2 separate regions of the Homo sapiens genome follow, and region 1 is linked to region 2. The links are contacts of gene promoters, found by promoter capture Hi-C in blood cells and fetal thymus (Javierre and others, 2016). All regions are on one chromosome and are shown on one strand. The core of a region is centred on a gene start or on the middle of the fragment in contact, and the rest is flanking DNA. Distances in the headings are between cores, read along the strand shown.

Region 1 (6,934 bases), core at 771-3,270, 430 kb before region 2:
ACCACCCCATCTGGTTTAGTATCTTCTCTAGGACGTAAGATACTTGCCTCGTATTGTGTTGCTCTCAGCCTTTGTGGCCTCTGCTCAAGACAGGAAAGCTCACAGATATCATAATGTTATATAAACATAGGATTCATCTGGACAGAGATAGCATTCGAACTATAGGTCTGCCTAAGAACATTGAGGAAGAGAGAGAGAGAAGAAAAGGAATCTCATCTAGGGGATTCAAAGAACTCCGATATTTAGAGTTAAGGTACAGAAAGAATTTTACAATAAAGTTTAAGAGAGATGAGGGGAAAAATACATGGTTGGTATCACAGCATTTTGAAAGGTAAAAGGCAAAGCAATATCGTGATAGATTTTCTTCTACCAGAGAAGAAGTTTGTTTCTGTCACTGTTGATACTTGATAGATATAAGTCCATAAGTTAATGTCGGAATGGGCTGTAGCATTATGAGAAGATTGAAAGCATTGACGAACCAAAATATAAGCTGATTTTTTAAATACAAGTAAGTTGCTTTTAATTCATTAAATCAATAACAAAGTCTTACAAAAGAAAATTACATTTCAATCTTCAAGTTTTGTGGGTCAAGGAGGAGAAGTGAAATAAAAAAGCAAAAAGGAAAACAAAAACAAAAGCAGAAAACGATTAGGAGGGCGGCCAGTATTCATTTTCACTCTCAGATCTAAATGTTAGAACGTAATTGCTGACTCTTCTATTTGGTTTTAAAAGTTGACATTTGAGCTGAGACAACCGTTTCTAAGCTGAAGTAGAATTAAGCATATTGTATACTGACATTTTTCACTGTCCAAATAAGCTTAAAACAAATAATCTTAGAAATGTTTGTTTGGCATCAGTGAATATATAAATGAATTAAGGAATGTATGTAATATGTCCATACCTCAAACAACATGAAATATTTGAGAATGTATGAAAGGTCAAATTTATGTTTTTCCCCCTGCATTCCAAATAACAGCATCATGTTCTAGTTAAGAAATATAGTATAACTTAGTTTAATGTATTTTATGCCCTAAAATGCTTTCATTATAAATTTTGTTTTAACTTTGTAGTTGTTCAAATTATTTTAACTTCTAGTGGAGACAACTATTGTGTATATAGTTTTAAATGGAGATTTAACTATTAGGATTAAGGATTAATTTCTACATTTGTTTAGTTGCATTCTGTTCCTTTAAAAACAAGGGCTTCAACATAAGACAAAAGTGCTTGAGCAATACTTTGTGCATCATTGGAACAATTACTGTCTGTGAAGCCATTTTGGACCAAAAGATAATTTTTAGCATTTTCTAAACTCTAGGGAAAAAAAAGTTGAACTTTGGAACCCAGGAATTTCGACTAAGGCATCAACACTCTTCTCGTAAACAGTGGTAATTAGGGCTTTGCCAAGTAGGAATGGGGCTTTCTGCCACAAAGATATGCTTTTGTGATAATATAAAGTGGTAATTATTTCCATTCAAGGCTATTTTTAAGTTGTTTCCACCTGCTTGCATGTTTATGAAAATCATTTCTGGCCATGGTAAAGCTTGACCTAACTAGATAGCTGGCATAAACATCACTAATGATTTGCTCTGATAAACATGAAGAGAAAAATGTGATTTCCATTTTCTTTCAAATCCTTAATTGTAGGAATTCACATTTGAAATGTTATTATCCTTTGTTCTCAAATCACTCATTCGCCAATCATATATCTTGGTTTATTTCTGCAGATTTCCTACATGTGTGCTGCACTGGGACCAGTCACGCAGAAAGACTGGCTAGACTTTCAGTCTCGGGAGAATAGATCCAAGCATAAGTGGTAAATTTGAAGGTGGCTTGGTTAATGCTAAGTCAACCTGGATAGTTTAATTGCCAGGAAATAGGGAGGTAAAACCAAGTCGAAGAGTTGTCTATTGACAATGGGACCAGGATCAACGACCCCTGAGATTTCCAGGAGTCAATATAGTTTCACATCAACAGGAGTTAAGAATCGTATCCTTGGAGATTACGTGGCGCCAAAAGAGCGAAGGTGGGAAGTTCAGCGTTAAAGAGTCTCTCCAGCCTGGAGAATGAGCAGCAGTTCCTAAAGGATTATGCTATCTTCTGATCAACTTTTGACATTTGACTTAAAATTTTAAACTTGCATAAGTAATTGCATGCACACAATAAAATATTCAAAAGGTTCAAACAGGTGTATAATGAAAGGGAAGTCCTTCTCCAAGCCCTCAGTTATCTTCCTCAGAAGAAACCACTGTCCCAGCAGCTCTGAATCCCCCTTCCAGAGATATTCCCTGTGCCTGAGCACAGTGCCTGTGTATAATTACAACTGTTTAATATACAAATTGTATCTTACTGGTTTGCTCTTTCTTTTCTATTTAACAGTGTGTCTTTGAGTTCATTTTTTATCCCCATTCATTTTAATGGCTTCTGTTACCTTTTTATCTGGTGGTTGGGGCTGTCAGTTTAACTCTATTTCATCTAACTCATTTCACTTAAATAAGCTTTACCTTACATTTAAATTAGATCATATGTAGTTAGCATCTAAAAAATATCTGGCATGGATCAGGCTCTTCCACTTCTATTTGTGTGATATTGAGGAAGTTACTCAATTTTCCTAAGTCTCCTTTTTCTCATGTATATAATGGGGATACTATCTGCCTGACTGACATGGCCAATATGACTGCTATCTATCAAATGTGTGCTCTCTCTTTTACACTAGAGAGTTATATCTGGGAAGAAATAGTACAGCTGGAGGCTCTATTTGCTGGTGCCCATTATAGTGTTATCATGTGACTAAGTTTTGCCAATGGAAGATGAGAAGTAATGATATAGGTCAGTTCAAGCCAAGGCAATTAAAACCACAACTACACACTAAATCATATAATTGGGGTAAAGGGCAAATAAGACAACATAAGGAAAACATTTAGGGCATAGTAATGCTAAGTAAGTGGTATTTATTATTATGAGTATTATAACCCACATTTGGCACTCCATATGAATAACCTGTAGTTTTTCCTGTATCAACTTCAATAAGAACACAATACTTGGTCACATGCTTCAAGGTCAAATGCAAGTCACAATGTAGATTTTAATTGCAGAAATAAAAGAGCAAATTTACATTGCACACATCATAGCAAAGAACTTAGTAACAATCTCCATTAGACCTTTTTTCTCCCAGAGAGTAATTCTTCAGCTGCCAGCCTAGAGATGTTTTTCTTTCTTGATATTTTCCCCATAAATCTCTAAGTTATACTCTATTGTCCCAACAAATTCAGATTCCACTTAAAAAATAATCTCACTTGAAGAACTTCTGAGGTCAACTGGACCCGCCTTCCTTAAAAGGCAAATTGTCAATAACCCATTGTTATTCAACCTGATTTTTGATGGTCTCCATTCTTAGCTAATCATAATATCCAAATATCCAAATATTTACCCAACATTACTAGAGCCTATACCTAGAAGGGGATTTTTTTTTTCTAAGAGAAATATTCTCCCTCCTCACCCAATTTTCGTGGAATTTTAAATGAGTTTCTCATTTGACTCCTGGTTGCATTAAGGAAATGGACCATATTTGGAGATTCTCTCCCCTTTCTGACTAAAATAGCCCTAGAGAAGCCTTGAGTTGCCTCATTAAAGATAGCATCTGCCCACCAAGCTATTTTTTTTAGAGTAACTCTGGCCTTTGCTTGTGTTTGGTCCATTCTTTATCCTCTTCAAAAAAATATAGCTTATGGACATTGTCCCTGCATATGTTGAATTTGGTCTCAACAACGTACTCCTTCCTTCCCTGTCCTGGGAAATTCCTGTCTTTGTATTCTTGATGATGTTCACCTAAGTCTCTTCATTGAAATTCAGCCTCACAGTCTACCCATTTCACTAAACCTCTGGAAGACATGATTCCTACTCCTGTCCCCTGAACAGCACCAGCCCTCTTTACGTATACTTAATGAGTCTTAGTTCTTTCAAAGGAGTTATCATCCAACTAACATCCAGTGTGGCTAAGTCTACCAGTCTGTGGCACAATAAAGATACCACACTATACCTGTGACTAACCATGAGGCAAGTGTGGAAAACACCGAAATTGTTTTATAATATTCATCCCTTGTTTAATAACTGTCTTCATCAATATACTGTAAATTATGCATGGGATGAACCGTGTCTGAATCATTCCTTGAAGTATCCTCAGAATCTAGCACAGTACCTCAGGTATATCAGGGGCTCTGTAATGTTTATTAAAGGAATAAACAATATAGATAACCTATAAGTGAAAGATTAAATCGTCAAATATGTGTTTATCAAAACAAAATCCATACTACATTTAAAAAAATCTAACTCATACTTAATAATTACTACCTTTGTAAATTTAGACAAACTGCTCTTTGGTTCTCAGCGTCCTTTTCTCTAAAATGATGCAGTGAAAAGTAGAGTAAAAGAAATTAGAACATCACAAAAATGCTATCTCAATGTTAGAGATTGTTGTTTTCATTTTTATTGGCAATAGGAGGCTGACAGATTAATTATTACAGTCTAGGATATTAATCACTTCCACTCATGTCTACTGCATTATATGAGAAGTAATGTGTCTCAGAGACAACTTTATAGGAGCTCATTGCCTAGCTCATTGCCCCTGACTTGCTGGACACAGAGGAAAATCACATATTTCCATTCTTTGTCTTTAAAATGAGAAAAATGCATGTCTGCTTCCTGGTTAGATTACATATATCTAATCAAGTACTCCTAATTTAGTGTTTTTCAGTTCCTCCATCCTAAGATTTTCCTTGCCCAGTTTCCTCTGTGGTTAAAAGAAACTGTCAATTATTTTAGTCTCATTTTAATCTGTGTTTCATATTTTAAACCTGCTGTTTTATATTAAAATATAGAAACAAATAACTGTTAAAAATTTATGGAATTAATCTAATGCAGGGGTAAAAATTCTGTTCTTGTTGTTAACAAATTCTTACTATTAAACTCCTAAATGAACTATTCCTTGAACCAAAAGTAACATAAGTATGTTGTCACAAAATATTAAAAACAAAATCCTGTAAAGCAGCCAGTGATGGGTTTCCATCCACATAGGGTACCGAGGAAACTTCCATCATTTATTAAATACCTATAAAGTGAGGGTCACTTCACTATAAAGTGGAGGTTTAGATACATAATAGGCAATGTCTTCAAGGGAGTACCCAAATCTCAGACTCTTCTTATCCTATCAAGGTTGCTAGAGAGTTTTACGTCAGTAGAAAGCCTCCCTCACTGTAGCAATGGAATGGGCAATGGAAAACCTCCCTCAAAATCACAGTGGGGCTGGGTGTGGTGGCTCATGCCCATAATCCCAGCACTTTGAGAGCCCAAGGCAGGCAGATCACTTGGGGCCAGGAGTTTTACACCAATCTGGCCAATAGACTGATGAAACCCCATCTCTACTGAAAATACAAAAATTAGCTGGACATGGTGGCACGTGCCTGTAGTTCCAGCTACTCCAGAGGCTGAGGGAGGAGAATCGCTTGAACCTGGGAGGCAGAGATTGCAATGAGCCAAGATCCTGCCACTGCACTCCAGCCTGGCGACAGAGCAGGACTCCATCAAAAAAAAAAAAAAAATTACAGTAAACACTTTGTGGAAAGGAACACCCTGGTCTCTTAAGACTAAAGGTCATTCCTAGTGGAATGCTTTAAGGTAATGGAGGATGATGAAAGCTAAAACATCAAATGTGTTACTTGAAAGCTGGAGATCCAGGAGCACAGTTATGTGACAGCTGGAGACGGCAAGGTAGGCAGTGCTCTGGACAGGAGCCAGAAGCACCAGAGTCCTTGACTCCAACATAAGGGAGCTCAAACAAATCAGTAAGAAAAAACAAACAAACAAACAAAAACCAGTCCCACCAAAAAGTGGGCTCAGGACATGAATATACAATTCTCCAAAGAAGATATACAAATGGACAACAAACATATGAAAAAATGCTCAACATCACTAATGATCAGGAAAATGCAAATCAAAACCACAATGTAATGCCACCTTATTCCTACAAGAATGGCCATAATCAAAAAATAACAAAACAGCAGATGTTGGCATGAATGCAGTGATCAGGGATCACGTCTACACTGCTGGTGGGAATGTATACTAGTACAGCCACTGCGGAAAACAGTGTGGAGATTCCTTAAAGAACTAGAAAGAACTCCTTAAAGAGCTATTGTTTGATCCAGCAATCCCACTACTGGGTATCTACTCTTAGGAAAATAAGTCATTATACAAAAAAGATACTTGCACACTCATATTTATAACAGCACAATTCACAACTGAAAAATCTTGGAACCAACCCAAATGCTCATCAATTGAGTGGATAAAGCAACTGTGGTATGTATATACCATGGAATATTACTCAACCATAAAAAGGAATGAACTAAGAGCATTTGCAGTGATCTGGGTGAAATTGGAGACTATTATTCTAAGTGAAGTAACCCAGGAATGGAAAACCAAACACAGTATGTCCTCACTGATATGTGGAAGCTAAGCTGTTAGGACTCAAATGATACAATGGATTTTGGGGACTTGGAGGGAAGGGTGGGAGGGGGACAAGGGATAAAAGACTACAAATAGGGTGCAGTGTATATTTCTCAGGTGATAGATGCACCAAAATCTCACAAATCACAACTAAAGAACTTACTCATGTAACCAAATACCACCTGTACCTTAATAACTTTTGGAAAAAATAAGAAGTTGATAGCGGGAGGGTGAGTGGTCAGAATCCCATTGGGGCCTTTGAGTAGGTCTTATGAAAGGAAGGAGCCTAGTTGATGGAGCCTTGAAGAAGTGACCTAACTTCCTTGGGGACAGACCTCAACAGAACTTAGAATTCTGGTAACTAGGCACCCACATTCTAGGGATAGCCCCATATCCAGCCATTGGTGGGGATGCTCAAGACAGCAAGATGTTCTCCTGC
Region 2 (6,858 bases), core at 2,862-5,361:
AAATTATCATCAGAGTGAACAGGCAACTTACAGAATGAAAGAAATTTTTTGCAATCTACCTACATGATAAAGGTCTAATATCTAGAATTTACAAGGAACTTAAACAAATTTACAACCCTATCAAAAAATGGGCAAAGGATATGAACAGACAGTTCTCAAAAGAAGATCTTTACACGACCAACAAATGTATAAAAAAGAAAGCTCAACAACACAGATCATCAGAGAAATGCAAATCAAAACCACAGTGAGATACCATCTCATGCCAGTCAGAATGGAGATTATTAAAAAGTCAGGAAACAACAGATGCTTGCAAGGGTGTGGAGAAATAGGAATGCTTTTACCCTGTTAGTGGGAATGTAAATTAGTTCAATCATTGTGGAAGATAGTATGGCAATTCCTCAAGGATATAGAACCAGAAATACTATTTGACCCATCAATCCCATTATTGGGTATATACCCAAAGGATTATAAATCATGCTACTATGAAGACACATGCACATGTATGTTTATTGCAGCACTATTTACAACAGCAAAGACATGGAACCAACCCAAATGCCCATCAATGATAGACTGCATAAAGAAAATGTGTTACATATACACCATGGAATACCATGCAGCCATAAAAAGGAATGAGATCATGTCCTTTGCAGGGACATGGATGAAGCCAGAAGCCATCATCCTCAGCAAACTAACACAGGAACAGAAAACCAAACACCACGTGTTCTCACTCATAAGTGGGAGTTGAACAATAAGAACACATGAACACAGAGAAGGGAACAACACACACCAGGGCCAGTTGAGGAGTGGGGGGCGAGGGGAGGGAACTTAAAGGATGGGTCAATAGGTGCAGCAAACCACCATGGCACATGTATACCTGTGTAACAAACCTGCACATTCTGCACATGTATCCTCCCTTTTGTTTTGGAAGAAATAAATAAAAACAAAAAACAAAGAAAGAACAACAACAAAAAAAGAAAGTTTAGGGTTTTTCAATGAATGGTGCTGGAAAAGCCTGATACCCATATGCAAAAACATAAACCTTGATTTTATGTCATACCATACACATACATAAATTAACTCAAAATGGGACATGAAAAATATAAAACCATAAAACAGAAGAAAATACAGAAGAAAATCTTGTAACTTTTGGTTAGCTGATTAGTCCTTTGATATGTATGACACCAAAAGCATATCCATTAAAGAAAAAACGATAAATTGGCCGGGCATGGTGGCTCATATATTCTTAGATTTATATTTAAGTATTTTATTTTAGTGTAATCCCAACACTTTGGGAGACTGAGGTAGGCAGATCACTTAAGGCCAGGAGTTGGAGACCAGCCTGCCCAACATGGCAAAACCCCGTCTCTACTAAAAAATACAAAAATTAGCTGGGTGTGGCACACGCCTGTAATCCCAGCTACTCGGGAGGCTGAGGGAGGAGAATTGCTTGAACCTGGGAGGCGGAGGATGCAGTGAGCCAAGATGGCACCACTGCACTCCAGCCTGGGTGACAGAGTGAGACTCTGTCTCAAAAAAAAAAAAAAAAGAGAAAATATAAAGACCTGATCAGCAATTTCAAATGCTGCAAGTATGATAAACACTGTAAATTATTTCTTATGTTTAGTCATTACAATGTCATTGACAATGCTAGAAAAGCAATTTTGCAAGAGGCAGGAATATGTACAGAAGCTAGATTATAAATACTGGAAAATTAATGGAGAAAATGAAGTAGAGGCAATGCATGTACACTACCAAACTGGGAAGTCTAACTGTGAAGAAGAAAGATAAAGGAGGCTATTGGGTCAAAAAGGTGATTATTTTTAGGTTTGCTTGATTTTTTTTTAAGTGCAGCATTCATAAGTGCTGGCAAATTGTTGAAACAATCGTAATTGAATCGGGCAGTTTATTCAGGGTCATGTAATATATGGTTTTTGAGCAGAGATTTTAGGAAAAGAAGGGGATGAGCTTTAGGATAAAAGGGAAAATAAAGCATTCTAAATAAAAGACGATCAAGTGAGAGCTACATGCAGATAAGTTTGGAGATATTATTGCTTTCACTCTCATTTCCCACCACTGTCAATCCAGCAGTGAAACTTGTCAAATCAGCCTTCCTGATTCCCTAAAACCACCCTGACTCCAAGATCTACACTAAGAAAATGTGCCTCCTTCCTAAGGTTCAGTTCTGACTATTGACTTGACGTTAATACTGGCTTTAGTAGTCAAGAAAGATTTAAGAAGTTCAAGTTTTCAACCTGAGAAACTGATTGCAGAAAAAAGAAGTTCAAGTTGATTAGGGGGCTCAGTATGAAGTCAATATTGCTTCTAGTTTTTCTCTGATAATTATTTTGCATTGTTACTGTTTATCCTTAATTTTGGCAACTCCACTTAGGCTGCTATGTGGTAGGAGAGAAAGGAGTGGATGAGTAGGCAATAAATGTTAAGAAGGGTAGAAATAGGAGAGAAACAAACACCTTAGGAACAAGTGGGTTAAATGGTACTCTTCAACAATAGCCTCTTCGGAAACAAAATGCAACTGTTTTAAGACAGGGTAAAAGACAGACATATTTTGTCCACATACTGTAGGCAATGGGGTTGGTAACTTATGCTTTATTGTCCATACCTACTAATCAAGTTTACATAATGTACCCTTCCTGAAATCCAAATCTCCAAATATTACACCATAATTAAAAGGATTTTTTAATGGTTCATTATTATCTACAGAATGAAATACAATTTCCTAGCATGACATCTAAGGCTATCTACAAACTATTTTCAATTTTCCATGACTTACCTTCCCTTAACTGCTCCCACTTACACCCTGTATCACCAGCAGGTTGGTTTTTGTTCCCTGAAAATGTTCTACAATTTTTGGTTCAGCTCCTTTGCTCTCAGTGTTCCCTCTATCTGTATTATTTCCTCTATACCACCATCCTCCCCAAACATCTATTAAAATCCTACTTAACATCCATACCTAGTTCAGATACACTGGCCACACATCCGTACGTGGTGGGGCCCTGGATACATCAAGGGCAAGATGATCCACTGGGACAAAAGTAGAAAAGTGACCCCACTTAGCCCTTCTTTAGAATCACAGGGCAGCATCTTTAGATTTTAAAGTTTCCTGTCTGCCTGTCTGGCATTTTGATTCTGTATCCTGTACCCACCCATTCTCCTCTCCCCTCCACCAGGAGATACTGTTGTTAATATATGAATAGCTACCGTTTCATAAGATTTTGCCACATATCAGCCACTATGCCAATTACTTTATAAACACTATCCCATTTAATCCATAAATTATTAACTAATACTCATATTACACCAATGGGAAAACTCAGGCTAAGTGACTTTCTTAGGATTACATGACTAGTAAGTGGTACTTGGAGTACACAAAACCAGGACTGTCTGAGTGTAAAGCCTGCTGTCTTTCACTAAGTTACACTGGGGCTGAGTGATTTCCCTGCCACTCAGGTGTCTTTGCTGTGGAGGAATTAACGGGTCTGAAGACTGAAGCTGGGAAGAAGCAGCAGGGAAGACTGATCTGAGCTTTCAGGGAAAAGAGTGAAGTTGGACTTTAAGGTTTTTATATTGTCAAGACAATTTACAAACACAGGAAGAGAAAGAATGACAAAGAGGAGAACTCCTAGCTGGAAAGAAGAGAAAAAAAAATTGGATGCAAGTAACTGCATTTATATATCTTGAGAATTTAAATAATCAGCAACAGTTAGAGGTGCAAATGCAACAGAAGCTAAAAGAAACTTAGTATCTGGAATAGTTGACAAGATAAAACCCCAAAATCTGAGAGCTGCAATCAAAGAGCCATCTTCTCTACTAAATTGAATTAGCTCAGTTATATAGCGCTTCTCAACAATAAAAAGTCCATTAAAGAACAGAAATTTAAAAATAAGTTTTACACACTATTAGTCTTCCAGTTTATATAACTTAATACTGTATACTAAGTTTTTATTAATAGGAAATGAAGGAATTCTGAGGGCCAAGCCATGTAGAAATAGCCTATAAACCAGACAGGCAGAGGGACCCAGCAGAGACTAGCAAAGTCTGTAAGTCATCACATTCCATCAGAAATATCCAGATGAAACCAGATGAAAAAGCACTTTAACAATACTCCTAAACAACTGCTAGGACCACGGAACTCAGAAACACAGCAAGGTAAGCAACGTGGATATTTCTATTAGTATTGATATAATACTCTGTTTCTCAGTAGTAGGAGGAATTTGAATTAGCCCGTCAGTCTTGAATCCTAACCATAAATAAAATAAAGTAAAAAAACAGCTTTGTTATAAGAGGATCCCATGACATGTTCCTTGTGATTTGGAAGGAACCTTTCCTGGTGCCTTCTCTGAAGACAGCAGAGAAGGAAGAAAATTAACAATTTCTAGGACTGATTAAGTCAGAGTGGAAGAGAAGCAGTAAAGACATCAATTCTAAGAAGGATTAAGGATGAAATGATACCTGTGTGAATGTGTGAAGTTTACATGGATAGTAACATTTCCTTCTATGTCATTAATATTAATATAGGCACTCAGTACCTATCTATGAAAGAATGAATGTGGAATCTAATACTGGTTAATGTATAGTACTTATACTCCTTCATAAATTATGTTGTATCTAAATATCTCTGAGCATTTGCTGTGTGTCTCCAAACAGGCTGTTATCGTCTTGAGGGCAAGGAACATTGTCGTTTTCAAATGCCTCAAGGGACACAGTAGAGGCTTCACCAGTGAGCACTTGATAAATGCTGATGAATGACTTTAATATTCTTCTTTCTGGTCAGAAACATTTTTTAAATGAATTTATATCAGAAAGTATATCATCACATCATGATCAATTTTTGTTTTAATTAAAGGCCACAGATTTTTATTTGAATTAAAGGAGACTCAGAACTAGTTAGAAGCTGTTATTTTCTTCTGAAAAGCTCCTGATTTTACCTATACCCTATTTCCACACTCCCAGATAAGGAAACTGTGCATGATGGCAAAACCCTGTTTGGACAGTGAAGAAAAGTGACAGCAAGAAGAAATGTAAAACCTCAGAGAGCACTAACGACTAAACATCAGAGGTTTAGACAGGGTCACGTTTTTCTTTTTCTTTCTTTTTTATTTGTTATAAGAAAAGTTCAAACATACACAGAAGTAGAGACAATAATATAATAAACTCCCATGTACCCATAACTCAGCTTTAAAAATTATCAAAACAAGGCCAATCTTTTTTCCTCTATAACCCTACCCCACTATTCTTTCCAGATTATTTGTGAACAAATCTCTGAGACCATTTCATTTCATCTTAAATGTTTTCAGTATGTATTTCCAAATAGGCAAGAACTTCTCTTTTTGAAATTTAACCTTACTCTTCCCAAATCAACAATATTTAAACAGGACCATCTTTGACTGGGAAATATACCAGCACTATGCTCAGTATCTGGGTGACAGGATCATTCACAGTAAACCTCAGCAACACACAGTATAGTCAGGGAACAAACCTGTGTATGTACCTCCTGAATCTAAAATAAAAATTGTAAAAATTTTATAGCAGGATACCCAGTATCCTGCTATAAAAATTTATTTGGGGTAGCACAGTAAAAGCTTTTGGAATGCAATTTACGATACATATCAAAAGTAATAAAAATTTAATTCCCATTACTTATGCCACTAATTATGTAATTCTTCTAGGTACTTATGCTGAGGAAATAATCCAGATAATGGAGGAAAAAAAATCTGTGGGTATCAAAATGCTCATTAGAATATTAGTGATAGTGAAACAATTTTAGATTTATTGAACCAGGGTAAAGACAGGGAATAGTATACGTAACCAATAAAATTTTTTTTTTTTTTGAGACGGAGTCTCCCTCTGTCACCCAGGCCGGCGTGCAGTGGCACAATCTCGGCTCACTGCAAGCTCTGCCTCCCAGGCTCATGCCATTCTCCTGCCTCAGCCTCCCAAGTAGCTGGGACTACAGGCGCCCGCCACCGCGCCCGGCTAATTTTTTGTATTTTTAGTAGAGACGGGGTTTCACCGTGTTAGCCAGGATGGTTTCGATCTCCTGACCTCGTGATCCGCCCGCCTCGGCCTCCCAAAGTGCTCGGATTACAGGCGTGAGCCACCACGCCCGGCCAAATATTTTTAAAGCTATAAATAGGGGAAAGTGTTAAGTGAATAAAAGATGAATTTTATTTATACTATTATGATAACTTTGTGAAGATACTTATGCATATAAACAAATTTTGAAAAAGAATAACAAAAATCAAAAGTGAAATGGTAGGTTTATGGGTGTTTTTCCTCCTCTATTTAAAAAAGTGTATATGTTACTGGTAATAAGTATATATTTAAAAATCGTTTTACCAAACCGTTCACTTTTAATTTCTCCATAATGTACCATCTATCAAAGTATAAATCATATATTGCATTCTCCATGAAGCTTTCTCTAATCACCTTGATATTAATTTCTAAGTTCAACAGCACTTGACAGTCAACGCACTACTGTTATTCACGAAAGTACCCTGAAGAGTTGTATTTGAACATATGATGATCAGTACATTTTCATTTTGTAAGGTAGTTCCTTTTCTGAAAAACTAAAACAACTGTATGATGTCATTAAATAAAACTTAACTTTTAGACACAATTATCAGCATATTTCTACCATATCTTAGATGCCCTTTAATCTTAAATGTTGACTTCTCAATTCAAAAAAATTAACAAGGTTAGGTGCAGTAAGCATCCATCTCAAGCTAACCTTTGTCTCCATTTTCATTTCTTAAGGTGTGCTGACCAATGACATCAGCACTTTCAGATGTTTTTTGTCATTTTTTAATAAAATAACAAGTCAAAAATTTCCAAACTTTG

What was found. Contacts are between HindIII fragments. The CHiCAGO score rates a contact against its expected background, and 5 or more counts as called.
Region 1: a fragment that was not itself captured here is called in contact with the fragment with the promoter of SMCO3 in region 2 in 2 of 17 cell types (megakaryocytes and M2 macrophages); the score reaches 6.4 in megakaryocytes.

What each region holds. Positions count from the first base shown.
Region 1 is chr12:15,234,870-15,241,803 of GRCh38, reverse strand. No RefSeq gene overlaps it. Among named protein-coding and RNA genes, the nearest start is that of RERG, 17 kb to the right of the region's middle. The HindIII fragment of the contact is 955 bases long and covers 1,543-2,497 here.
Region 2 is chr12:14,811,435-14,818,292 of GRCh38, reverse strand. SMCO3 (single-pass membrane protein with coiled-coil domains 3) reads left to right here and starts at 4,111. Exons shown (of 2, transcript NM_001013698.2): 1 at 4,111-4,167. The region is part of intron 1 of C12orf60 (chromosome 12 open reading frame 60); the gene reads right to left. The HindIII fragment of the contact is 14,101 bases long and covers 1-5,602 here.